Regions from separate parts of the Homo sapiens genome. Here regions 2, 3, 4, 5 and 6 are each linked to region 1. The links are contacts of gene promoters, found by promoter capture Hi-C in blood cells and fetal thymus (Javierre and others, 2016). All regions are on one chromosome and are shown on one strand. The core of a region is centred on a gene start or on the middle of the fragment in contact, and the rest is flanking DNA. Distances in the headings are between cores, read along the strand shown. Region 1 holds the start of TRMT10C (tRNA methyltransferase 10C, mitochondrial RNase P subunit). Region 2 overlaps SENP7 (SUMO specific peptidase 7). Region 3 overlaps SENP7 (SUMO specific peptidase 7). Region 4 overlaps SENP7 (SUMO specific peptidase 7). Region 5 overlaps SENP7 (SUMO specific peptidase 7). Region 6 overlaps SENP7 (SUMO specific peptidase 7).

The links. Contacts are between HindIII fragments. The CHiCAGO score rates a contact against its expected background, and 5 or more counts as called.
Region 2: a fragment that was not itself captured here is called in contact with the fragment with the promoter of TRMT10C in region 1 in 3 of 17 cell types (total CD4 T cells, naive CD4 T cells and non-activated CD4 T cells); the score reaches 5.5 in total CD4 T cells.
Region 3: a fragment that was not itself captured here is called in contact with the fragment with the promoter of TRMT10C in region 1 in 1 of 17 cell types (non-activated CD4 T cells); the score reaches 5.6 in non-activated CD4 T cells.
Region 4: a fragment that was not itself captured here is called in contact with the fragment with the promoter of TRMT10C in region 1 in 6 of 17 cell types (non-activated CD4 T cells, naive CD4 T cells, total CD4 T cells and 3 more); the score reaches 12.7 in non-activated CD4 T cells.
Region 5: a contact is called between a fragment that was not itself captured here and the fragment with the promoter of TRMT10C in region 1, in 6 of 17 cell types (non-activated CD4 T cells, naive CD4 T cells, total CD4 T cells and 3 more). The highest score is 12.5, in non-activated CD4 T cells.
Region 6: a fragment that was not itself captured here is called in contact with the fragment with the promoter of TRMT10C in region 1 in 6 of 17 cell types (non-activated CD4 T cells, total CD8 T cells, activated CD4 T cells and 3 more); the score reaches 6.9 in non-activated CD4 T cells.

Annotation. Positions count from the first base shown.
Region 1 is chr3:101,559,815-101,564,263 of GRCh38, reverse strand. TRMT10C (tRNA methyltransferase 10C, mitochondrial RNase P subunit) reads right to left here and starts at 2,396. Exons shown (of 2, transcript NM_017819.4): 1 at 2,261-2,396. RefSeq lists enhancers at 2,261-2,330, 2,341-2,410. The HindIII fragment of the contact is 12,384 bases long and covers 1,281-4,449 here.
Region 2 is chr3:101,332,730-101,337,178 of GRCh38, reverse strand. SENP7 (SUMO specific peptidase 7) reads left to right here. Exons shown (of 24, transcript NM_020654.5): 18 at 4,317-4,409. Among named protein-coding and RNA genes, the nearest start is that of IMPG2, 14 kb to the right of the region's middle. The HindIII fragment of the contact is 539 bases long and covers 1,016-1,554 here.
Region 3 is chr3:101,356,080-101,360,528 of GRCh38, reverse strand. All of the region lies in intron 11 of SENP7 (SUMO specific peptidase 7), which reads left to right. It also overlaps the pseudogene ZNF90P1. Among named protein-coding and RNA genes, the nearest start is that of IMPG2, 38 kb to the right of the region's middle. The HindIII fragment of the contact is 330 bases long and covers 2,251-2,580 here.
Region 4 is chr3:101,376,708-101,381,156 of GRCh38, reverse strand. All of the region lies in intron 6 of SENP7 (SUMO specific peptidase 7), which reads left to right. Among named protein-coding and RNA genes, the nearest start is that of IMPG2, 58 kb to the right of the region's middle. The HindIII fragment of the contact is 5,077 bases long and covers 1-4,314 here.
Region 5 is chr3:101,394,130-101,398,578 of GRCh38, reverse strand. The region is part of intron 6 of SENP7 (SUMO specific peptidase 7); the gene reads left to right. Among named protein-coding and RNA genes, the nearest start is that of IMPG2, 76 kb to the right of the region's middle. The HindIII fragment of the contact is 2,163 bases long and covers 732-2,894 here.
Region 6 is chr3:101,417,916-101,422,364 of GRCh38, reverse strand. The region is part of intron 4 of SENP7 (SUMO specific peptidase 7); the gene reads left to right. Among named protein-coding and RNA genes, the nearest start is that of SENP7, 93 kb to the left of the region's middle. The HindIII fragment of the contact is 1,245 bases long and covers 1,915-3,159 here.

The DNA.
Region 1 (4,449 bases), core at 1,147-3,646:
AAAAAAAGTTGGGTTCTTATTTTAGACATGAATTTCACTATTGCTTTAGCTAAAAGGATAAGTTGAAGATCCTTTTTAGATTTTTATCTAGGGGCCCAGAGAATCAATGTTACTGGGCAACAAAGTTATGTACCACCGAGGCAGCTGACATCATGATGCTGCATACTCCTCCATTCTACACTAAGCCCAGATACAGAACCAAACATAAGATCCTTCACAAAAGCAACAAATAAAGACAAAGGACATGAAAGGTACTGAGAATGGCAACAGGTAAAAAGCACTTAGAAACTGCTGTACCAATGCCCTCGTTACAGAAATATACCAAGATCTACTGATCAAAAAATAGCAACAAATTCTTCCCCAGTTCAGGCTTTATTTTGCAGCAAATAATGTTATTAACAAAGAAAATGTCCAAGATTGAGACAAATGTATATAAATGTATATAAAGCTCCACAGTTTTATCCTAAAAGCCTGGATGTCCATGAGATATTGAAGATGCTTAAAGATGTAAAACTTGTCTCAAATTTGAAGGAAAAGAAATAAAGGGAATTCAAATTTTTACAAAATGCAAATAAAACACTTGAAAAATTCCTTCTTCCCTTGGCTTCATTTAATGACCCTGCACAGGCTCCTAGGTTTCCTGCTCTCTGACCTGTGCACTGATGTCCAGATGCCCCTCCCTTAAAGGTGGATGTAACTCCGCATTCTATCCTATTCTTTTTTTTCAATCTATACATTTCCCTTCTGAGATGTGACCTACTTCTGTGGCTTCAATGACCATGCATTAGAAAGACATCTCAAATGCAGGCCGGGTGCAGTGGCTCACTCCTGTAATCCCAGCACTTTGGAAGGCCGAGGAGGGAGGATCGCTTGAGGTCAGGAGTTTGAGACCAGCCTGACCAACATGGCGAAACCCTGTCTCTACTAAAAATACAAAAATTAGCCAGGTGTGGTGGCGCATGCCTGTAATCCCAGGTACTCGTGAGGCTGAAGTGGGGCGATTCTTCTACTTCCCAGGTACTCGTGAGGCTGATGTAGAAGAATCGCTTGAATAAGGGGGGCGGAAGTTGCAGTGAGCCGAGATTTTGCAACAAAATCTGTTGCAGTGAGCGACAGAGTAAGACTGTCTCAAAACAACAAAAACAAACAAAAAACACCTCAAACGCAACAAATCGAAATAACCCCTCTACCTTTGCTTCACAATCTGATCCTCCTTCAATGTTCTGTTTCAAGGGATATTGCTATCCATTGGTATTGTTCCCAACATATATTTCTAAGCTTATTGCGGCCAGGTCAGCAGCATCTCTAGCTATTCTTCACCTCACACTTCAAGTATTCCACCATTACTTTTCACAGCACTCTGGTGCCTATGACAGTACTTCTAACACTGCACTGTAATTGCCTGGTTATCTATTTGCCTCACTAGATGGTAAGGACTAACTAGTGTCCATGAGGACAAGGACTTTGTCTATAATGTTAACATTGAATCCAATGCTTGACAGTATTTGGCTCACAGTAATCACGCAAATATTTTTCTAATACCCTAGATCGATGCTTCCTTCATTAAAAAAAAAAAAAAGAAAAAAAAAGTTCAGCCTCCCTTTATTATTTTTTTTGAGACGGAGTCTCGCTCTGTCACTCCAGGCTGGAGTATAGTGGCGCGATCTCGGCGCAAGCTCCGCCTCCCAGGGTTCACGCCATTCTCCTGCCTCAGCCTCCCGAGTAGCTGGGACTACAGGCACCCGCCACCACGCCCGGCTATTTTGTATTTTTAGTACAGACGGGGTTTCACTGTGTTAGCCAGGATGGTCTCGGATCTCCTGACCTCGTGATCCGCCCACCTCGGCCTCTCATTGTGCTGGGATTACAGGCGTGAGCCACCGCGCCCGGCTCAGCCTCCCTTTAAAGAGAAAACAATTTACTTTAGAATCCCGGAAATATTTAACTGGGGTCCCCAGGCCCCAATCTAATAAACATTGATTTCAGAAGGAGTTTTAAAAGTTTTATTCTTGTAACTGGCAAGGACTTAGAATACCACAGAAATGAAAACCCCAATTGTAAAAAGCAATCAAGTACATCATTTCAGGAACCACTGATTTTGTTTCAGGTACTGTACTAGTTATAGTTTATTAAAATCACTGGGCTTCCTCTTACCCGTGGGCCTTCCGAACGCACATGCTCCACTAAGTGCATCTTGGAACGTCTCCGGCGTCCTCCCACCCCCAACACACACATTAGGCGAAAGAAGAAACTCGCTTACCAGGAGTGCAGAGATAGTGGTTCCCGCTGGCGCAAAGAACAGGGACCCTGGAGGACGAAGGACTCCGACGTACGGACGCCCAGGGATCCGCGCCGAAGCTAGCACGCAGCCTACCCAACAGTCTACACAGCCGACCAGAGCGGTCGCTGGGGCTCAGCCGGAAGTTCCGCCCTCTCCCTTCCGGCGCTGCTTTTTACGTCACAGCACGCAAAGAACGCTTTCTTGGCTAAAAGAAGCGCCTTAGAGGAGACGGCTGTCAGTAGGCAACTGGGTACTCGAAGACTACGCTCTCAGTTGTCACGGAGTTGTAGCTGTGTTGTGTTGTGTTTTCCTCCATATATCCTAAAAACTTCTTCTGGGCCGGGCCAGTTGGCTTACGCCTGTTATCCCAGTGCTTTGGGCGGCCGAGGCGGGCGGATCACTTGGGGTCAGGAGTTTGAGACCAGCCTGGCCAACATAGTGAAACCCCGTCTCTACTAAAAATACAAAAATTAGCCAGGTGTGGTGGCGCGCGCCTGTAATCCCAGTTGCTCGGGAGGCTGAGGCAGGAGAATCGCTTGAACCTGGGAGGCGGAGGTTGCGGTGAGCTGAGATCGCGCCACTGCACTCCAGCCTGGGCGACAGAGCAAGACTCTCTGTCTCAAAAAAAAAAAAAAAAAAAAAAAAAAACTGTTTCTAATCCTCTTTTCAACCTACTCTCTGTTTGGGCCCTGTATTTATAAACATTTGCTGACAGAGTACTAAAATAAAGTATGTTTTTTTCACACGTCTTCTTACTCAGCTTCAAACTCCTTGACGCTAGGACTTTAAACTCCTAATCTTTTTGACCAGTTTATCACCAGTACCTGGCACTATGCTTGGAACGTGATAAGCCACGGTAAGTTTCTGTCTCCTCCTAGCTCATTTGGAAAGTTTAATGTGAAATGAAATTAAAACACATTTGTAAATTGGTGGCCTTTGGGGCCAATTCAGCCTCCACATATATTTGTAACCAAACACAGAATGAACATATTCTGCAGCCATTCTACTCCTAGTAATATACCCAAAGAAATTGAAAGCAGAGACACAAACAGACACTTGTACTCTAATGTCATTGTAGCATTATTGATAATAACCAAAAGGTGGAAGCAACCCAAATATCCATGAACAGATGAATAGATTAAAAAATGTTGCATGTACATACAATGGAATATTATTCAGTCTTAAAAAGGAATGAAGTTCTGATACATGGTACAACATGGATAAACTTTGGAGGCATTATACACTGAGATAAGCCAGGCACAAAAGGACAAATATTGTATAAGTCCACCTATATGAAGTGCCTAGAATAGTCAAATCATAAAGAAAGAAAGTAGAATAGTGTTTACCAGGGGCTGGGGAAAGGGAAGAATGGGCAGTTACTGTTTAATAGGTATGAATTTTCAGTATGGGATGATGAAAAAGTTCTGGAGATGGATAGTAGTGATGGTTGTACAAGAACGTGAATGTACTTAATGCCATTGAACTGTACACTTGAAAATGACTAAAATGGAAATGTTTATATTGTATATAGTTTACTAAAATAAAAGAAGGTAGGCATAGTCTTTTCCAAATGATTTTAAAAAACGAGATCTTGTCTAAGAGACTGATTACTATCATGTTAGAAAGGTGAGGTGGTGATAGCAAAATAATCATGAGTTTACTCCCAAACATGGAAAAAAATCAAGAATAAATATCGTCTAGTAGTTATAACAAATAGCAGTGTAGAGGTTATTTTTTCTTGTTCCTGTTCTTTAAAGAGATACATCTGAAGTTTTTCCATTAATATTTTATGAAGGTTTTTGCTATATGATCTTTGTCAAGTAAAGGAAATTTCATTCTGTTAAGTTTACTAAGATTCTTTATGTGAAAAATCTTTGGAAGTGTTTCTATAAATATAGCAGAACATAATTTATTCAATATGTCTGGGATCTGACCTATTCTAGATTAAGAATATTTCCAGGTTTCAGACATCTTACCTCCAACAAAAAGCACAGTGATTTTCAAAATACGTTTTTTTGTTTTTTTTTTTTGAGACGGAGTCTCGCTCTTTCACCCAGGCCAGAGTGCAGTGGCGCGATCTCGGCTCATTGCAAGCTCCGCCTCCCGGGTTTACGCCATTCTCCTGCCTCAGCCCCCGAGTGGCTGGGACTACAGGCGCCCGCCACCGC
Region 2 (4,449 bases), core at 36-2,535, 230 kb after region 1:
TGTGAGTCCACCTCTCACAGGACAGACCTGCTATAACTCCAGCTTTCATCTGGAGGTACTGCTTCCTCTCTTTGCCCTCTACCCTACAGGTATAGCAGTTTCCTCCTCTGCTAATCTTTGCTGTCTCACTGTCCCCGTTTTTGGCTTTGTGTTTTTTTGTTTTTCTTTTTTTGTCAATGCTATAGCCAATTTCCTGCATTGAATTCTATCTGTTATATAGGGCTGTTTTTGTTTTCCTGGTTGGATCCCCAATGACAGACTATTTAATTAAACCTATGCTACATTATACGAAATACCCTATTTGTTTGCACAATTTAGCTGATTTTTGCCCAAGTATTTTTTTGGTTAATACTAAAACTGTGGAGCAGTGGCTAGGGATAGGCAAAAAGGAGGTATTTCTTAGACAGTAGAAACTTGGATAGTTGTTGCAACATGAGGCATTTCTCCCCTTTCCCCATACTTAACAATTTGTATGATAATCTATCTGAGTAGACTCATGATAAAGCTGAGTTATTGTTATTTTAAAAGTTAGTGTAAACATTTCTCTACTGCTTTACAATTTACAACTCCATTTATTGACATTATTTCAGTTTTTCCTATCATGACAGTACCTTTTGATAGGGCATATAAACTGTATCCCAATTTTTCATATGAGGAAGCAGTCTAATGAAGATTAATAAATTTTACTTAAGATGAACAGCTAGTGAGTGGCAGAACTAGTTGGTACTTAAATCTTTACCTTTTAACTTCTAGTCCAAAGTTTTTATTGTACTAGATTGCTTTAAAAAATGGCTATGAGAGTTTGTTTCATCTCGTTAAAATAACAGGAGTAATAAACAAGAGTTAGAAGAGGATTAATGGATAAACTGCTTGAATTTGATATATTGTTGGAGAAAGAGGGTAGGAATAGGGACACTAATTAATATTTATTGAGTGCCTGCTAGGAACTAAGACGGTGAACATAAAGTTATTTGATTCTACAGTATTATTGTCATTGTCTTTATGAATTGAAGCTTAAGGAAGTTATATGAGTTTTTCAAAGTTGGATATAGCTTTCCAGTTTCAAAGTTCAACTCTTTCTGTTGTTCATAGTGTTGTGATTATATAATTAATGGTCTAAATTGGGATGCTTGTGAGAATAATAGGAGGCTGTCTTAGTGGGTACACTAGACAACGAGTGCGTATACCAGGGCTTTTCTAGACAAACTGGGATGTATGATTAACTCCATTTTGAGTGTCTTTACAGGTTTGGAATTTGTCCTGATGGACAAGACCTGCGAGGATCAGTTAAGGAGAAAACTGCAATTTGAAAATATTTCTGATAATCAGGGCTAGGAGAGGGATATATGGAAGGGGGAGATTTATTAAATAAATTAGGTAACATTTCTGATGCCCTCCTGTTCTGTTTTATGTATACAGAATTTAATGATTGGTACCATGCACTTAATCTCATGTTTTATTTCAAGATTATTCAAAGTAGAGATTGTGAATTTTGTATACTCACCTTCAAACTAAGGAAATGAAAGTAGATAGATTCTGCTGTATTAGTAAGCTTTTCAAAAAACAGATATTGTGTACCTGATTATTATATACATAATAAAAATAAAGTTACGTGAGTGGCATCCTCTAGGGTAAGATGCATAAGATACTACACACACACACACATGTACACATGCACATGAATGTGTGAATACTAATGCTTGGTCTGTTAAGCATTCACACAATTTGATATATCAGATCAAGCATTAGTGTTTACACAAAGAATCCCTACAAATCAGTTTTTAAAAGTCATCAGAGCAGCAAGAGATATGAATTTTAATGGCCAATAAATCCACATCAAAAGGCTCTAACTACTAGTGTTGAGAAGCTACAGATTCCTTATCATGCTTTATGAGATCCTGAAAGATCTGGTTTCTTTCCATCTCCTTAAACTCATCTCATAATATTGTTTCCTCTCATTTACCATACTTAAGTTCAACCTACCTCATTTCCATTTTCAAATATGCTGACCGCTTTCCTATTTTCTGCCTGAAACAACTTATCCTGGCATTTAAAAAATTTGTTTCACAGCGTGATCTGTAATCATTTTATTCGTTTGTTTACGTCTTCATTTTCTGTTTCTCATTTGAAGCTACATGAAGTTAGGGACTTTATCTGTCTTATTTTCCACTCTATCCTCAGTACCTTGCTCGGTGCTTGGAACATATTAGGAACTCAAAATATGAGATGATAACAGTGCCTATTATTGATTACTGAGAGAACTGTTAGACATTTAGTTGAAGATTTTCTACACAGGAACTGAGAATAGGAGATTATGTTTGGCCCTCATATTCTCTCCTATCCTCCTTGCCTCATTCTATGTCTAATATATTCTCAATCAAATAAGGTTAGCATAATCAGGAAATCGACCAAATACCAATATAAAACCAGATGTCTATCCTTAAGATTTTCAAATAGAAAACAAATTAACAGACTATACACTAGTTGAAAGTAATTGTTTATACTGATTATAATGGTTGGGTCCTTTTGAAATGAGAAAATTCAATAAACGTGACTTTGATTTTTTTATGTGGTTAATCTTCCACATAGTGTCTAATTGCTGTCAAATCTTTTAGCTCATTCTGGATCCTATGTTACTCCTGATGTTTACCCATAGAGTTTTGGCTAGATATTATTCAAATGAACAAGATGGGGCAATGATTTCAGTTTCCTATATGACTTGATAAAAATTATATAAGAATGTAATGGTTTGCCTTTTTTTTTTCCTGCAATAAGAGTTCCATCCAAGGGACTGAGCCAGAAGTCACATACCACCTTTATCCCCCTGTTAAATGTCATTTTCTTCCTTCCTAAAACCTTTCTTTTGACAGTCAAACTTGGTTTTATATCCTTCTCTTTTAACTCCCCTGATTAGGTAAAGAAAAGAAACTAGTATTTGTGTGTATGCAAGCCAACCCTGTTCAAGGTGGCTGTCTCAGATGGTTTAATAAGGGGGTCCCCAACCCCTGGGCTTCAGACTGGTACCAGTCTGTGGCCTGTTAGGAGCCAGGCCACTCAGCAGGAGGTGAGCAGCAGTGAGCGAGCATTACTGCCTAAGCTCTGCCTCCTATCAGATCAGTGGCAGCGTTAGATACTCACAGGAGCGCGAACCCTGTTGTGAACAGTGCGTGCAAGGGATCTAGGTTGCGTGCTCCTTATGAGAATCTAACTAATGCCTGACGGTCTGAGGAGGAACAGTTTCATCTTGAAACCATCCCCCCTAACCTTGTCCCTGGAAAAATTGTCTTCCACAAAACCAGTCCCTGGTGCCAAAAAGGTTGGGGACTGCTGCATTACCATAATTCCTTTGTACCTCTTATGACACATTTTAGTTATTTGTTATAGTTTTTTCTGCCCATATTAGATTATGAATACTTCTAGGGCAGTGTAGGTGACTTTCATTATTTGTTTTTAGGAACCTAATAAATATTTGTTGAAGAAATAAAAGGAAAGATGGATGAGTGGTAGGTACATTTAACATCATCCTGTAGTTTCCTTGTGTATGAAAGGAAGGGAGATGAATTTTATTTTAAAGAATCTGAGAATAAAAGCCTCATTTTTCCTCCTCCATTAAGATTTTTAATTAAATTAAGTTAACTGATTAATTTATTTTTTAGAGATAGGGTCTTCCCTTGTTACTGAGGCCAGAGTGCAGTGGTGTGATCACAGCCTCAAACTCCTGAGATTAAGCAATCCCCCAAGTAGCTGGGACTGATTATTGGTGTGTGTCACCACCCTGGCTAATTTTCTTTATATTTTTAGTGACAGGAGTCTCGCTATGTTGCCCAGGCTAGTGTTGAACTCCTGATCTCAAGTGATCCTCCTACCTTAGCATCCTAAGTAGCTGGAATCACAGGCATGAGCCACCACACTCAGCCCATTGAGTTTTAAAACCTCCCTAATGACAGATATAACAGTTGGAGAATTCTGTTAAGGTTTAATGACAGTATTTTATATCATGCCCAGATGGAGCTAAGCAAAATAAGTAGATTTAACTGTGTTTATACTAAGTTGCACAGCCAGTTTTGGAATCTGAAAAGCATTTAATAAATTGCTGCCTTTATTCTGTCCATTTCATTATTGTTTATAGTTATTAAATTTAAGAATAACCAGGGGTTACTATAAGGAGATATATTTATAATGTGTTAAATATGATATATCTTAAAGAAGATGGTTAAACTAAATTTAAGATATTTCAATATATAAAAATGGCTCTTGAAGTCCCTATCTTAAATGAAAAAATTTTTATATATCAAATCTGTCTTTCATACTCTCAGAATGGCACAGAGAAGACATAAAAGAGTAAGAACATGGACTCGTCACATAAACATTTTTAATAAAGATTACATCTTTGTACCTGTAAATGAGTCGTAAGTATTTCAGATTATTTAAGAACATATTGGAAAGAAT
Region 3 (4,449 bases), core at 1,166-3,665, 200 kb after region 1:
AGGCAGAGAATATAAAAATGCTAAGATATGGTTTCTGCTTTCAGGGAGCTTTTAATCTAATGGAAGAGACAGACACATAAATATTTACTTTACATTATGGTAAAATATAAAACAGAAATATGTACAAGAAGGGTGCATATGGCAATGGATATCTATCAATGTCTGGAGGAATCAGGAAAGGCTTCACAGAGAAGACAGCACATGAATAAGACATGAAGTACCTGTTGTTTACTTGGTACCCATGCAGACAAAGACCTAATCCCAAATTCTGGGAACTGCAAATAATAGTAGTTTGTGATACAGTCACCATTGCTTCGAAAGCTCAAGAATGAATTAAAATTAACATTTTTTTGGCCACTGGTTTTAACTGATTTTGGCATGTCTGGGGTGATTTTACAATTCTTTTTCTTTAAGGAATTTTATTCATTTTTCAGGATTTTCTCCCCTATTTTACTTTATTATTTTAAATTCAGGTTTACCCAGTTATTTCTGTTGAGTTCTTTTTGATGGCAAAAAGTTGGATAACCTAAATATATGAGAGTGATGATTAGCCGGGGGAAGGAAAATCCAATATAAATATTAAACAATGGGATTTCTATTAATTAATATATTAATTATATTATTACACAGTCAGGTGGACATGTTATGCTCAAAAACCAAGATCAAGCAAAAAACCACAAACAAATTAGTAAAGGAACAATATTACAAACACATATAATCTTGCCTATTTAGAGACAACTGCCATTCACTGTATAGTATATATCGTTGCATATTCTTCATACATATATAGATACATTAAAACAAAGGGATATTACATAATATGTACTATTTTGTAACTTACCATAATTTCATTAATTTAATTCCTCTACTTATTTTGGGATATTTGGGTTGTCTTTAAAAATTTTTAATTGTTGGTCATTTCAAATTGTCCCAATATTTTACTATTACAAACAGTAGGGAACTGCAAATATTCAGTAAGCATTGTAAAGTGGTCCTAAAAATTAATTGTCAGAAGTCCTGGCCAGGGCCATCAGGCAAGAGAAAGAAAGAAAGTACATTCAAATTGGAGGAGAGGAAGTCAAACTATCCCTGTTTGCAGATGATATGATTCTATGTCTGGATTCTATATATATATTTATATATATTATATATAAATTTTCTAGATATAGGATCTCAGCCCAAAAGCTCTTTCAGCTGATAAACAACTTCAGCAAAGTTTTAGGACACAAAATCAGTGTACAAAAATCACTAGCATTAATGGCTTTTCCATATTCTTTATATGTGGACAATTTTTCTCAAGGGTAATAGCTTTCCTGTGAAATAAGGTGTAAGCACAGATTAAAAGTTTTGCCACATTCTTTATACTTGTAGGAGTTTTGCCAGTATGAATTATCTTACCTACAATCAAGTGTGGCAACCATATAAAGGCTTTGTCACGTTTTATACATTTCTAGGGTTTCACACTAGTATAACTTTTTTTTTTAATGTATTGCAAAGTTGGAGGTGTTTGTACAAGTACTGTCACATCTTTCAGGTTTGTAGAGTTCCTTTTCAGCATGAATTATCGTTTGTCTCTTAAGAATTGAGAACTTATGACTAGGCATGGTGGCTCATGCCTGTAATCCCAGCACTTTAGGAGACTGAGGCAAGTGGATCATCTGAGGTCAGGAGTTTGAGACTAGCACGGCCAACAAGGTGAAACCCCCTCTCTACTAAAAACACAAAAATTAGCCAGGCATAGTGGTGGGCACCTGCAATCCCAGCTACTTGGGAGGCCGAGGCAGGAGAATGGCTTGAACCCAGGAGGCGGAGGTTGCAGTGAGGTGAAATCATGCCATTGCCCTCCAACCTGGGTGATAAGAGCAAAACTCTGTCTCAAAAAAAGAAGAAAAAAAAAGAATTGAGAATTTGTTGTAGGCTTTGCCACGTTCTTTACACTTGTAGAGTTTCTGTCCAGTATGAATTATGTGTAATAAGGGTTGAGAACTTCCTTAAAAAGCTTTGTCACATTCTTTATATTTGTAGGGTTTATGTTCCATATAAATTCTCATATTTACTAAGAGTTGAGGGCTGGTTAAAGGTTTTCCCACATTCATCACATTTATAGGGTTTCTCTCCAGTATAAATTATCTTATGCTTATTAAGGGTTGAGGAACATTTAAAAGATTTGCCACATTATTGACTCTGTAGGTTTCCTGTGCAATATGAATTATTTTATGTTTATTAAGGGCTGAGGACCAGTTAAAAGCTTTGCCACATTCTTCACATTTGTAAGGTTTCTCTCTAGTATGAGTTCTCTTATGTTTAGTGAGGCTTGACTAAACCAGGTGAAGGTTTTGCCACATTGATCACATTTGTAGGGTATATCTCCAGTATGAATTATCTTATGTTTAGTAGGGTTTGAGGAACAGTTAAAATTTTGCCACATTCTTCACATTTGTAGAGTTTCTATGAATTATCTCATGTTTAATAAGGGTTGAGGATGAAATGAAGGCTTTGCCACATTTAACACACTTGTATGGTTTCTCTCCAATAAGAATTTTCTTATGTGAAAAAAGGGGTGAGGGGTGGTTAAAAGCTTTGCCACGTTCTCTACATCTGTAGGGTTTCTCTCCAGTGTGAATTATCTTATGTGTAGTAAGGTTAGAGGCAGCTTAAAGGCTTTGCCAGATTCTTCACATCTGTAGCGTTTCTCTCCAGTATGAACTTTCTTATGTGTAGTAAGGGTTGAGGACTGGTTAAAAGCTTTGCCTCATTCTTTACATTTAAAAGTTTTTTTTCCAGTATGTCTTATGTCTGTTTGACTTTGAAAATTTATGAGAGACTTTCACATATTTATCACATTGAAATATTTTTCTCTGGGTAGTTGTCAAACATTGGTTAAGTCCATTATAACCGCTTTTGTGCACCTTACACTCATCCACACTTTTACAGCTTTTTTTAAACTGTAAATTGTCATGTCCACATTTTTCATATCTTCTCAGTATCACTTTTTGGAAAGAATCTTTTATGCTCTGCTCTGGCCAAAGATCTTGGGCAAAATGAGAACATATAACTGGGGGTCTGGCAATCATCTTATGTCTCTTCGTAGTCAAAGGTTTTTTCCCTTGTTCCAGACAGGTCATCAGGTCTGGCTTAGAGACAACAATACCAAGGAAGAACAGGTTTCTGTAGTTCTCTAACATCACATCCTTATATAAATTCCACTGTGCAGTGTCCAGGCAATGCCACTCCTCGCGGTGGCTCACGCCTGTAATCTCAGCACTTTGGGAGGCTGAGGTAGGTGGATCACCTGAGGTCAGGAGTGCGAGACCAGCCTGACCAACATGGTGAAACCTTGTCTCTACTGAGAATGCAAAAATTGACTGGGCATGGTGGGGCATGCCTGTTGTCCCACCTACTTGGGAGGCTGAGGCAGGAGAATTGCTTGAACCCAGGAGGCGGAGGTTGCAGTGAGCCGAGATTGCGCCATTGCACTCCAGCCTGGGTGACACAGCGAAACTCTGTCTCAAAAAAAAAAAGAATGTTCATAGTTAATAAAAGCATTAAAAGTGCAATTACTGTCAAAAATTCTTTCAGAAAATATAAGCCTTTAAAGTGAAGAAGAGTATTTATTCTGAAGACAACCGTTACAAATATAAAGGGGGTTGTAGTACCTTTACTTGTATCACAGATCTTATTGCACACATTTTGTACTAGAGGAAAACCCTCAAGCAATTGCTCAAGCTTTTTTCAGCATCAGGGAATTTATATTGGAGAAGAGTCCTGCAAATGTAATGAATTTGGAAACACTTTTTTTTTTCAAAAATTACTGCTTAGAAAACACCAGAGTTTATATGAAAATATATTTTTGCCGATGCAGTAAATATGAAAAAATATTTAATTCAAAATTGATTCTATGTAAATATCAAAGAATTTACAGTAGAATAAGGTACTGACACTTCAGACATTACACGAAATCAGAGTGTTGAGTATAAAAACTAATCTACAACTAAAGTTGTTAAATTATTTGTATATAACTTTAAAGGGAGTAGATTTTTTGAAGTATTGTAATTACATTGAAAATGTACTTGTTTCCTTGAAAAAATTTTTTTGAAAAGTGAATAATGATGTAATACAGCTTTCAAATTACTTTATGCTGTTATTTTATTCCTATTGTATTCACATGGGAAAGCATATGATCAATTGTTGCTGCATCAGAGATATTAGAAATTCTTTTTTATTAGTTGGGCATTATTTATGACCTTTTCTATAAATGAATAAGGAGATTAAAATGTGAGATGCATGATGAAAATGTAAGTGGAGAGGCTCTTTGTAGTTAACTTACATTAAGTAACGTATAAGGTAGGTGTTCAGAGTAATACTTTTCAACATTATAGTGAGAGGAAGGAATGATTAATTATAGTTAAAAGTATATTCAAATAAATTACTATATTATTTTACTAATTG
Region 4 (4,449 bases), core at 527-3,026, 180 kb after region 1:
ACCGAAGCCTTCTGTGTTCCCCACTTTGCCCATTCTGTCCCATTCCCATGCATTCGCCTTAGAATTAACCACTTTTCTGAATTTTAAGTTTTATATAATTGTGAACTTTAGAAAAATGATTCAGGTTACTGAACAATATGTATTACATGGCATGCATTTTTTTTGCCTAACATTTTTGTGAGATTCATTCATGTTGATGCATAGAGCTAGAGATCATCCAGTTTTACTTATGTATTTATTGTATTAATATTAAAAATAGATCTACCTACTTTTTATTGATGGAGTTTGGATTGTATCCAGTTTTTTTTCTCTCATAAACAATGCTCCTTTGGACATTTTCATTTTATATGTGTTGCCAGTAAATAGTATGTATCTGGATACTTCTCTTTTTACATTCAGTCTACATTTATTTTTAACTATAAGGCATAGTCTGTTTATATTTTATACTACTATTTTTCTTTATGCTTTTTATTTGGTCTGCTTGACTTTTTTTCCTTTCTTGTATTTTTTTTTTTTTTAGAGATAGGTCTTGCTATGTTGCCCAGGCTGGAGTGCAGTGGCTATTTACAGGCATGATTATAGTGCACTACAGCCTTGAACTCCTGGCCTCAAGTCAGCCTTCGAAGTAGCACACTATAGGTGTGCACCACTGTGCCCCACCCATTCTTGTATTTTAAAAATTAGTTATGTTTTGTTTTGTGTGTGTGTGTGGGGGGGGGGGCGGTGGTTTGCTTTACGTTCTAGAAGATTTAGACTCTTTCTATTTTTAAATAGTTTTCTATAAATTATAATATACTTGATAGACCTATCAAAGTCCAAAGTTAATTAGTATCTGTGTTCTCATTTTGAATAATAGGGACTTTAATCTATTTTAAGTACATTCACATTATTGTACAACCATTACCACCATTCATTTTCAGAACTTTTTTCATTTTTACCAAACTGAAACTCTGTATCTATGAAACAGGAACTCCTCATTCCTCTCTCCCCCTAAACCCTGACAGCCACCATTCTACTTTCAGTTTCTATGATTTATTTCATGACCCTAAGTACCTTAAATAAGTGGAATCACAGTATTTGTCCTTTGCTAACTGACTTATCTCGCTTAGCATAGTGTCTTAAAAGTTCATCTATGTTGCAGCATGTGTCAGAATGTTCTTCCTTTTTAAGGCTGACTATATTCCATTTTATGTATCAACTAAATTTTGTTCTATTCATCTGTTGATAGATAGTGGTGTTGCTTCTACATTTTGGCTATTGTGTGTAATGCCATTATGAACATGGGTGTTCAGTGTGTGTTTGTATCTCTCCTTTAAGTTCTTTTGGGTATATATCCAGAAGTAGAAGTGCTGGATCATATGGCAATCTATTTTTAGCTTTTTGAGGAAACATCATACTATTATTCATAGTGGCTGCACCATGTTACATTGCCACCAGCAGTGCACAAGGGTTCCAGTTACTCCATATCTCGCCAATACTTGTTTTCGTTTTTTTGATAATAACCATCCTAATGCATGTGAGGTGGAATCTCATTGTGATTTTGATTTTCATTTTCCTAATGAATAGTGATATTGAACATCTTTTCGTGTTGTTGGCCATTTATATGTCTTCTTTAGAGAAATGTTTATTCAAGTACTTTGCCTGCTTTTGAATTGGATTTTTTTTGTAAGTTGTAGGATTTCTTTATATATTCTGGATACTGATCCCTTAATAGATATGGGATTTGCAAATATTTCGTCTCATTCTGTGGGTTGCCTTTTTACTCTGATGAAGTCTACGTAATCTGTTTCTTTAGTTGACTGTGCTTTTGTTGTCATATTCAGAAATGTTAACAAATCTAATGTGAAGATTTTCCCCTATGTTTTCTTCCAAGAATTTTCAAAATAGCTTTATGCCTTATGCTTAGGTCTCTGATCCATTTTGTGTTAATTATTGTATATGGTGTTAGGTAAGGGTACAGATTCATTGTTTTGCATGTGGCTATTCAGTTTTTCCAGCATCATTTGTTGAAAAGGCTGCCCTTTCCTCATTGAATGGTCTTGGTACCCTTGTTGAAAATCATTTGACCATGTATTTGAGGGTTTATTTCTGGGATCTCTATTCTGTTCTGTTGGTTTATGTGTCTGTTTTTATACTAGTACCACACTGTTTTGATTACCGTAGCTTTACAGAAAGTTTTGAAATCAGAGAGTATTAATCCTGCAACTTTGTACTTTATTTATTTATTGGTAGGTTTTTTTTCTCTGAACACTTAAAAGATTTCACTCCACAGTGTTCTTACTTGCATGGTTTCTGAGAAATGAGATACAATTCTTGTCTTTGTTTTTCTATAGTTAAGGGCTTATTTTTTTCTGGATTTTATTAACTGTTTTTAAATCTTTGATTTTTTTGCAGTTTAATATGATATGCCTAGGTGTTATTTTTTGGGCATTTATTCTCTTTGGTGTTCTCTGAACTTGCCAGTCTGTGATTTGGTGTCTGACATTAATTTGGGGAAATTCTCATGCATTATTGCTTTGCATTTTTCCTCTGTTTCTTTACCTCTTTCTTCTTATGATATTCCCATTATGCCTATGCTACACCTATTGTAGTTGTCCCACATTTCTTCAATATTCTGTTACGGGTTTTTTTAGTCTTTTTTTCTCTTTGCTTTCCTGTGTTGGAATTTTCTATTTCTATATACTCAAGTTCAGAGATTCTTTCCTTTTCCATATCCTGTCTACTAGTGAGCCCATCCAAGGCATTGTTCATTTCTGTTACAGTGTTTTGATCTTTAGTATTTCTTTTTCATTCTTCATTACACTTTCTCTCTGCTAACATTGCCCATAAGTGCTTATATGCTGTATACTTTATCTGTTGATCATATTTGTTTTAAATTCCTAATCTGATAATTCAACATCTCTGACATGTCTGGTTCTGGTTCTGATACTTGTTGTCAAACTGTGGTTTTTTTTCTTTTAGAGTGGCTTTTAATTTTCTTTTTGTTTTTTGTTTTTTTTTGGATAGTTGGACATGACGTACTAGATAAAAGCAACTACTGTAAATAGACCTTTAGGAATGTGGTGGTAAGATGTGAGAGGAAGAAAAGCATTCTGTAGTCCTGTTAGGTTTCAGTCTTTTAACCCATTTATGCTTAGTGTTCTATTACTGGAACGCTAGGCATGTGGAAGTTATTTATATCCTACTGCTAAAGGTTATCACCAAGCTGTGATTGCAAAAATTCAAAAAATTGCAACCTCAGGCGTTAATGAGCCTTTGTCCTTGGCCTGTTAACTTTACAAGTGCTTCTCATTCTCTTCTGAATGCTTTGGTGCAACAGCATACCTGGAATATAATGAAGTTAGATATTTCCCTTCTCCCACATGGAAAGCTAGATGGTCTTGGAATTGTGTATTTTCCTTGCTTTTCCTCACACAGAATGCTAGACGGAGCTAGAGTTGGGTATTTTTTATTTCCCCTGCTTGATTAGGCTCTAAAAAATAACTCATAGTTTAGGCTCTGGTGAAATAGTTTTTCTTGAGGGCAGGCCTTGTTAAGAACAGAATGCTCTGATATATTTGAAAATGTTTTCCTTCCTCTGCTGAACCATGAGGGGATTTTTCTGATATTCACTGTGAGAACCTGGTTGAACTCCTGGAGATAAAACTCACAAAAGTGTGCGACCCCCTTTATGACTAAGTCCTCTGGGATTTTTAACTCTTAGACTTATGTACACTGAACCCTCAGCAATTTGTCAATTGCAGTTTAGGTCTTCATACTCCAATAGTAGTTACTGGGACTGTTTCTGCTTGTGGGTTTTTGCTTTAGTAAGTTGCGATTCTCTGTATTCACCTGGCTGTCTTTCTCCCATTTTGGGGGCAGCCATTCATCCTGTGACTTCACTTTTCTGTCACGTCCAGGAAGAGTTGTTGATTTTTCAGTTTTACCCGTTAGGATAGATAACTTCCAAGCTCCTTTCATGTTGGACTGGGAACTCCTGTGTATTGCACTTCGTTTGATGCAGTTTTGGGTTTAATTTCTCTTTTTTATTTTGATGCTCTTAGTTTATCATTTATTAAAAGTTTACCATGTATGTGGTTGAATCCGATCATATTTTTCTCTATAATTTCTTTACTTCCATTCTCAAGAAATTCTTCTTCCACAAGGCTAATAAATATAGTGTTTTTCTTCTGATGGTTGTTTAAAAAAAATCTTACAACTTTTAGTCATTAGCATATGATAGTTCATTTTACCTTAGAGTATTGGATGTAGTTCTGAATTCTTTTTTTTCTCTGTTGTTACCCAGTTAGTCCACTACAACTGAATTTGAAAGCTTTGTTTCCCAGCTTTGTTTCAAATTCTTCTGTTTTTTTTTCTTTTTGCATTTTTTTAAATTATACTTTAAGTTTTAGGGTACATGTGCACAACGTGCAGGTTTGTTACATATGTATACATGTGCCATGTTGGTGT
Region 5 (4,449 bases), core at 564-3,063, 170 kb after region 1:
TAATTGAAATCCATTCCTCTGACATTAGTCTATTGCCCTCTCTTTTTCTGTTCTATTTGTCCATCTATCCATCTACCCATTCAGTCTTGTCTGTTATTTTGTTTTACTTTAATTTTTTTGAGGCGGAGTCTCGTTCTGTCGCCCAGGCTGGAGTGCAGTGGCATGATCTCGGCTCACTGCAACCTCTGCCTCCCAGGTTCAAGCGATTCTCCTACCTCAGCCTCCCAAGTAGCTGGGACTACAGGCACGTGCCACCACGCCCAGCTAATTTTTTGTATTTTTTAGTAGAGACAGGGTTTCACCGTGTTAGCCAGGATGGTCTCGATCTCCTGACCTTGTGATCTGCCTGCTTCAGCCTCCCAAAGGGCTGGCATTACAGGCGTGAGCCACTGCCCCCGGCCTTGTCCGTTATTTTTATATTCAGACTCTAGAATTTTAACTAGTACTTAGTGCTCAGTAAATAGTTTTTGAATGAATGGCTGAACACATTCCTTAAAAAAATGGTTTGAGATTTTCCATTAACAAATGGAAAAGCTGAATTCCATTGACAAATGTAGCTTGTTGTGCCAATAAGAGAAATGCAGATCTGAAGTTGCCTTTGTTTTAAGCTCTAGGAGAGGATTGTGTGTGGACTGGAAATAAGAAAAAATCTGTGGCACAAAGCTAGGGATGGTCAGTTAGTACATTCTGTTAGATTTATAAACTTCCATTTGCTACAAGCTTCTGAAGCTTCTCTTTTTATTTTCTGTGTTCAGCCTGTAGGATACTTTTTATATAGATGAAAAGTTGATTATCCTAATTTTTTTCCCCCCAAACTATCCAAAGCTAACTTCTGGTTTGTATTTCTATTGTAAGCCTAATTACATTAAATAGTACTTATAGTTGCCTTTTTAAATATCTACAACAAATTTTATTATTTAAAACTCTTTATTTTCTATGAATTCTTGAATTTTTCTTCTTTTGGAAAATATTTTCACCTAGGTTCTACTTAGTGAATCAGTAACGACAATTTTAACTTTATATTTTATTAGGTCTCTTGCTAAGTTTTCCCCCCAAAATGAGAATTTCAGTGGCATTATTCAGTTACTAAATTTAATGTGTAATTGGGGAAATTAGTAATGTATCTATCAAGTGGCTCATGCCTATGTATCTATCAAGTGGCTCATGCCTATAATCCTAGCCCTTTGGGAGGCTGAGGCACGAGGATCACTTGAGGCGAGGAGTTCAAGACCAGCCTAGGAGGCATAGTGAGATCTTGTTTCTGCTAAAAATGAAAAAAATGAGCCAGATGTGATGGTGCATGCTTGTAGTCTCAGCTACTTGGGAGGCTGAGGTGGGAGGATCGCTTGAGCCCAGGAATTCAAGATTGCAGTGAGCTATGATAGCCACTGCATCCTAGCCTGGGTGACAGGGCAAGACTCTGTCTCAAAAACAACAGCCGGGTATGGTGGCTCACGCCTGTAATCCCAGCACTTTGGGAGGCTGAGGCGGGTGGATCATCTGAGGTCAGGAGTTCGAGGCCAGCCTGACCAACATGGTGAAACCTTGTCTCTACCGAAAATACAAAATTAGCTGGGCGTGGTGGCAGGGGCCTATAATCCCAACCACTTGGGAGGCTGAGGCAGGAGAATTGCTTGAACCCAGGAGGTGGAGGTTGCAGTGAGCTGAGACCGCACCATTGCACTCCAGCCTGGGCAACAAGAGCAAAATTTCATCTCAAAAAACACACAAAAAACAATAACAACAACAACAAAAGTACCTATCCACGTTGCAGTATAGCTGTTTATTTCCACCTCCTCTGCTATACCATGAGCTCCTTGAGAAGAAGAGGTATTGTGTCTTATTTGCATTTATACCTAGGACTTAGCTCAATGTATACTAAATTTTTTGCTCTTGGGTTAATGCTTATGTCATTTAATGTAAAATTCAGTTTTCTGAGTTGTAAACAGAGAAGTAATTTTGAATGCCCTATGTACCTCACAAAAATGTTATTTTTCTTTTCTTTTAAATCTCACTTCTGAGAATTCTTTGAGCCCATAAAATAAATGAAAATATTAAGGAAGGTACTTTCTGTTGGAGAAAAAGTTGTGATGATTGAGCTTTAAGTCAAATGATGAGCAAAAAAAAAAGAAAAAGATTAAAAGAAAAAACTTATGATGTGCCATTGCCCATGGAACTCAGATGATGTCAGTGCACATTTATGTTGTTAAGAAAAATCACACTTTTGAAGATTGTATGAAACAATCAAATTGTAATCTGTACGCTTCTGCCTTTATGCCATTCTGGGGCTAAGGTTTAATAATATTAATAGGTATAATATTTCTGGTCATTCCCCAAAACTATTCAGTGGGAACACTAGCTCTCCTTTAAATCCTTTCTAAATAGATGTGGAATTTCCAGGTGGTTTTGATGTGGACCTTGAAAATTCATTCCCTTAGTGACAATTTTATTTGATTCATGTATTTGGAATAAGCATGAACTTTGGAGCCAGACATCTGGATTAAGATATTAGCTATACTGCTAATACACTGACTTACCTTGGACAGGTTTCTTACCGTGTCTTTAAAGCAGGGATAATAATACACACCTTATTGGGTTAGTGTGCAGATATAAGGAGATGATCCATGTAAAGTCCCAAGTATAATGCCAGGAAGTTAGTAGGTGATTATTAAAAGTTAGTCATTATTTTTGTGTCTCTCTTATTGGTGCTGATATCAGAAGTATTATAAAAGGATATTACTATAGTTGATGTTACTGAAATCTTCTACAATGAGGGTGCCAACATGTGTTCCTGAGTCCACTTATCGTCATCACCATTGCTGCCAAAGCAATTGTTATGGCTTTGTTAGCCTCCCCATTTAATTTAGCAAATACTGAACTCCTTAAACCAAGCTTTAGTTCTTTCTTCCCTTAAGATGAATTTGTTAATCTTAACCCTAAGATCATATGGAATTAAAAAAGAGCCCAAATAGCCAAAGCAGTCCTGAGTGAAAAGAATAAAACTGGAGGCATTACACTACCTGACTTCAAAATATATTACAAGGCTATAGTAACCAAAACAGCATGGTATAAAAACAGACCCATAGGCCAACGGAACAGAACAGAGAACCTATAAATAAATCCATATATTTACAGCCAGCTGATTTTCAGCAAAAGGTGCCAAGAACATACACTGGGGAAAGGACACCCTCTTCAGTAGTGATCCTGGGAAAATATGCAGAAGAGTGAAACTAGACCCCTGTCTCTCACCACATATAAAAAATCAACCCAAGATAAATTAAATACTTTAAACGTAAGACCTGAAACTATAAAACTGCTGGAAGAAAACATAGGGGACATGCTTGTGGACATTGGTCTAGGCAAAGATTTTTTGACTTAGACCTCACACAGGCAACAACAAAAAATACATAAATGAGACTATATTAAGCTGAATGGCTTCTGCACAGCTAAGGAGCCAACCCATCAACAGAGTAAAGAGACAACTTCCAGAATGGGAGAAAATGTTTGTAAACTATTCATCCAAGAAGGGACTGATACCCAGAATATATGAGGAATCCAAACAACTGAACAGTAAAAATAAACAAATAATCCCACTAAAAAGTGTGCAAGTGACATAAAAAGACATTTCTCAAAAAAAGACATACAAATGACAAACAGGTATGTGAACAGTGCCCAGCATTGCTAAGTGTAAGGGAAAAGCAAATCAAAACTACAATGAGATATCATCTTACCTTAGCTAGAATGGCGGTTAGAAAGACAAAGAATAGCAGATGTTGGCAAGGATGTGGAGAAGAGGGAACTCTCATACACTGTTGGTGGGAATGTAAATTGGTGTAACTATTATGGAAAGCAGTATGGAGATTTCTCAGAAAACTAAAATAGATTAAAAAAAAGAAACAAAAAAGAAAAAAACAAATTTTAAAAAGAAGTCCCAGCTACTCGGGAGGCTGAGGCAGGAGAATGGCGTGAACCTGGGAGGCGGAGCTTACAGTGGGCCGAGATTGCGCCACTGCACTCCAGCCTGGGCGACAGAGCCAGACTCCGTCTCAAAAAAAAAAAAAATTTTTAAAAAGAAACATAAAAATAGAACCACTGTACAATCCAGTAGTCCTGCTACTAGTATTTATCTAAAGGAAAGGAAGTCAATATACCAAAGAGATACATGCACCTACCATGTTTTTTTGCAGTACTATTCACCATAGCAAAGATACAGAATCAACTTAAGTGTCCCATCAGTGGATAATGGAAATACGGTGTCTGTATACACAATGGAATACCATTCAGCCATAAAAAAGAATGAAATCCTGTCATGTGCAGCAACATGGATGGAACTAGAGGTCATTACATGAAATAAGACAGGCACAGAAAGATAAATGTTGGATGTTCTCTCTCACATGTGAGAGCTTAAATAAGTTGATCTCATAGAGGCAGAGAGTAGAATTATAAACA
Region 6 (4,449 bases), core at 1,288-3,787, 140 kb after region 1:
AGTTCTCAACCCCTGCAAATGATAACCCTTTAAAGCAGCAGTCCCCAACCTTTTTGGCACCAGGGACTGGTTTCATGGAAGCCAATTTTTCCACGGATGGGGTTGAGAGTGGGGTGGGTTGGTGTTGTGGGGAGTGGTTTAGGCATGAAACTGTTCCACCTCAGATCATCAGGCATTAGATTCTCATAAGGAGTGCACAAGTTAGATCCCTCGCATGTGAAGTTCACAATAGGGTTCGTGCTCCTATGCGAATCTAATGCTGCTGCTGATCTGACAGGAGGCAGAGCTCAGGCGGTAATGCTCGCTCACCCACCGTTCACCTCCTGCTGTGTGGCCCAGTTCCTAACAGACCACAGACTGGTACAAGGCAGTCTGGGGGCTGGGGACCCCTGCTTTAACGATAACCACTCACCTAACTTTCAAAGTAATTACTTTCTTAGTTTTGTTGGATAGTATTGTTACCTAAGTATATATCCCTAAATACTAAATTTAGGTTTTATTTTGCCTGGTTTGAATGTTGTTCTTTACTCTTAAGTTTCTCTTCTGGTATACAGAGAAATCTTATGACACTTAAATGTTGTAGATGTTTAGAATTTTTTCACCTTACTAGTTTGGGGGGAAAAAGATTACTGACTTCTGTTGCCGGATATTTTTAGTCAGACAAATTATAATAAAGTCAAATGTGAAATAAGTATTTTCCCGGAGAAGCCAAATTGTCCGTCTCATTTAGAGCCTCACTATTAGAATAATCAGTAAAATTACCAATGATTTGTTATTTTCCAATATAAATTCTTATTTGGTCTGAGTGAATAGAAAAATGGCTTTTTCCAACATTGAATAGTCTCATATTTGAAATTATTAAAATTACCATTGAGATAATAATTTCCTCAATAATTTAGCAAATACCTAAGTCATATAGTTTTTCCATTAGACTTAATTACATTTTATCCTTAAAATAAATTTCCTTAAAGTTTTGTTTGCATTTTTATTTGGTCATTTAGAATTTTAAATTGTACAGTTGTAAAATGTATAAATAATAGACTGGTAGTCTTTAAACATTTTGGCACATTTGCCGTCTCTCGGTGTCTCTTTATGCATGTATATAGATGGGCATCACATATATACATATATACATGCACATATACATACATTTTTTGGGGAACCATTTGAGAGTAAGTTGCAGGCATCATGGTATTTTATCTTCAGATACTTCAGCTTGCTTTTCCTAAGAACAATAACATTCTCTTACATAACAATTATAATATACTATCAAGAAAATTAACAGTAATTTCATATCATCATCTGCTATAAAGTCCACAATCAGAATTTCCCGAGTATTCCCAAAATGTCTTTTATTTATTTATTTTTAAATCTATTTGGCCAAAACTGCAGTTACTTTTGTACCTACCTAATAGAATCAAGTTCAGGTTCATGCATTGTATTTGGTTATTATACCCCATTAGTCTCTTAATCTAGAAGAGTTCCCACCTGCTCTGCCCTTTCCCTTTTAACCATCACATTGAGTTTTGAGGAGTCCAGACCAGTTGTTCTGTAGAATGCCTCACAGTCTATATTTTTATTATTTTATTGGTCTTGCCCATATGATTAGGTCCAGGTTACATTTTTGGCAGGAATATTTCATACCTGATGTCATGTACTTCTTACTGCACATATCAGGGGGTAACATAATTTCTGGTTGTTTCACTCTTAGTACTCCTATGTTTGATCACTTGCATAAGATGGTGCCTGCCAGATCTGTTCATTGTAAAGACACCTTTTCTTCTTTGCAATTAATAATCATCTGTGAACTCAATTATCTGTTTGCAGGAAAAAAGGATATTTGTGGCATTATAAATGTGTTAATCTCACAGGGATTTCTTAACTGTAAGACAACGTGTGTTTCTTTAGTAAGCTTGTGTTCCCCCTCTCTACAAGGATTATTTGAAAACTTTTTTCAAACCTATGTTCCTTTATCTTTCCTATCACTTTTTTTTTTTGAGACGGAGTCTCGCTCTGTCGCCCAGGCTGGAGTGCAGTGGCGCAATCTCGGCTTACTGCAAGCTCCGCCTCCTGGGTTCACGCCATTCTCTTGCCTCAGCCTCCTGAGTAGCTGGGACTACAGGTGCCCGCCACCATGCCCGGCTAATTTTTTGTATTTTTTAGTAGAGACGGGGTTTCACCATGTTAGCCAGGATGGTCTCGATCTCCTCACCTCGTGATCCACCTGCCTTGGCCTCCCAAAGTGCTGGGATTACAGGCGTGAGCCACAGCGCCTGGCCTCCTATCACTTTTAAGAGAAGGTCTTGGTTGGAATGCCTCTTCTCCTGTCATAAACCAGTGTAGTGTGAAGCAGTTAAGAGTGCTGGCAAGAAATTTGAGAGTGTGTGGTTCTGAATCGCATTTTCACTACTCACTCGTTTTACTTAGATATTAATCAGCCTATCTTGGTCTCCTCAGCTGCATGAGAAGAATAATTTGTAAGCCCCTCATGGAGTGGTTGTGAGGATTAAATGAAATAAATCATTGTAAAATGCTTAGCACAGTGCCTGGTATATAGTACATGTTCAATAAATATTAGCACTTAATGCAATTTCTTGGGAAACTTACTGTGTTAATTATCCTGCCTTCTGTGTCTTTAACCCTTACGTGCTTCCCATAAGCATTTAAACTTACACAAATCTTTCCTATCTTTAACTAATCAACCAGTAACTGACTAAAAACCCTTTCCTGCTTCTCATGTCTATTTTCAGGTCTTGTCTTATTTTCCACTTTCACAACCATATTTCTCAACTACTTTCATTTGCTATATCCCTTTGCTCCTTTCCCTTTGCTGATCCCACTGTATTCTGGTTTCTGCTCCCACCATTCTTCTAAACTACCTCTGATAAAGTCATCATCTCCGTAAATTAATTTTTATTCCTCATTATTCCTAGCACTTCCATTTTATTCTTCATAAACATCAAAATGATCTTTTAAAAGTGTAGCTCTGATCTCAGTGTTTCCTAATTAAGACTAGTGGATTTCCATTGTTGTTGACATAAAGTCTCACATCCTTAATATGGTTTGCTAAGTCCTGCCTAACTGCCCATTCTTAGACACATTACCTCTTTATTCTAAGTACATGAGTCAGGTAAGTCCTTTAATTTCTTTGAAGAAGCTTTACTCAAAACATTTGCATTTTGTCCTGTTTTTTGGACCTTTCTCCATTTTTTACTTGTTTCCTTTGGATAGTGCCTGTCCTTCTTTGAGACTTCAGCTTCAAGGTCATATTCTCAGAAACTTGGCTCAGAAGAAGTGCAACATCTGTATTTCTTCTTCATAGCACATATTAGAATTCTAATTAAATAATGAATTGGTTTATTCTCTGTAATGTACACCCCATGAAGGCAAAAACTCAACTATTTTGTTTGTAGCTGAAACTCCAGATTATACTAGCATCGTTGTTTTGCTGGAAGATGTTCAGTAAGTGCTTGTAGAATGAATTATTATTGATCCATAGAGATGTCATTTATTTTTTAATAATTTTAAAACTAATAGCTTAATTTTTTTTTGTGTGTGTGCAACATGTTTGGAGTTTTCAGTGTTCTATGGAAGTACCCTGGGAACTTGTACCCTCTTCCCACTAGATGGTTTGGGGATATACACTCAAATGGCTGCTGCAAACAAGTGGTTTTTTTTTTTGAGAGTTCCCGTTTTATCTTGAAAATATGTGAACATATTGCTGTTTCTTAATATTCTTGTGTTTGTTAAGCAAACAAACAAAAAGTGCCTAAAACTGTTTCATAGGTAGTAAAATAGACACTCTTCTGATTAAACATTTCCCAGTACTTTCAGCCATTCCTCACTTGACATTGTTTTAAATGCACTTGGTAGCCTGTTCACACCACTGCAGAAACTATATTCCATAGTTTTTGGAATTCCAGAACTAAACATAGTTATTCAAATATTCAGCATAAAGATGTATTGAATGAGAAGATGGGTAAAACATGATGGGCAAAAGTGTTGCTGGAACTGCTTGCATTTGTCAGTCTTTTTTTTTTTTTGAAATTGGTATAGGTACAGTAAGGTAAATTTTTTAAGTTGACCTATTTTAGAAATAAGATAAAATTAAATCTGTATCTTAAGACTGTATAGCCTTAAGAATGTAAGTGATGCAGTAGTGGACCCTTAGTTTTAATAATGTTTTCTGAATCAACAAATGCTAAAACAAAAACACATTTTTAGCACAAACAGTGGTTACATCTGTGATGAGATCTGCAAATGAACACTGTCCTTCAACTAACATTGTTAATAAACATGAATGCATTGCCAGGAGTCTAGCAGCTGTACATGTGTAATGATAGTTGTAGTAAACTTGACAGAATTCTGAAGAAAATCCCAACTTAAGTGAAATAGATTTTACTTTTTAAGGTATCTTTGATAATAGTTAGGCATTTTTTCTTTTTTCTT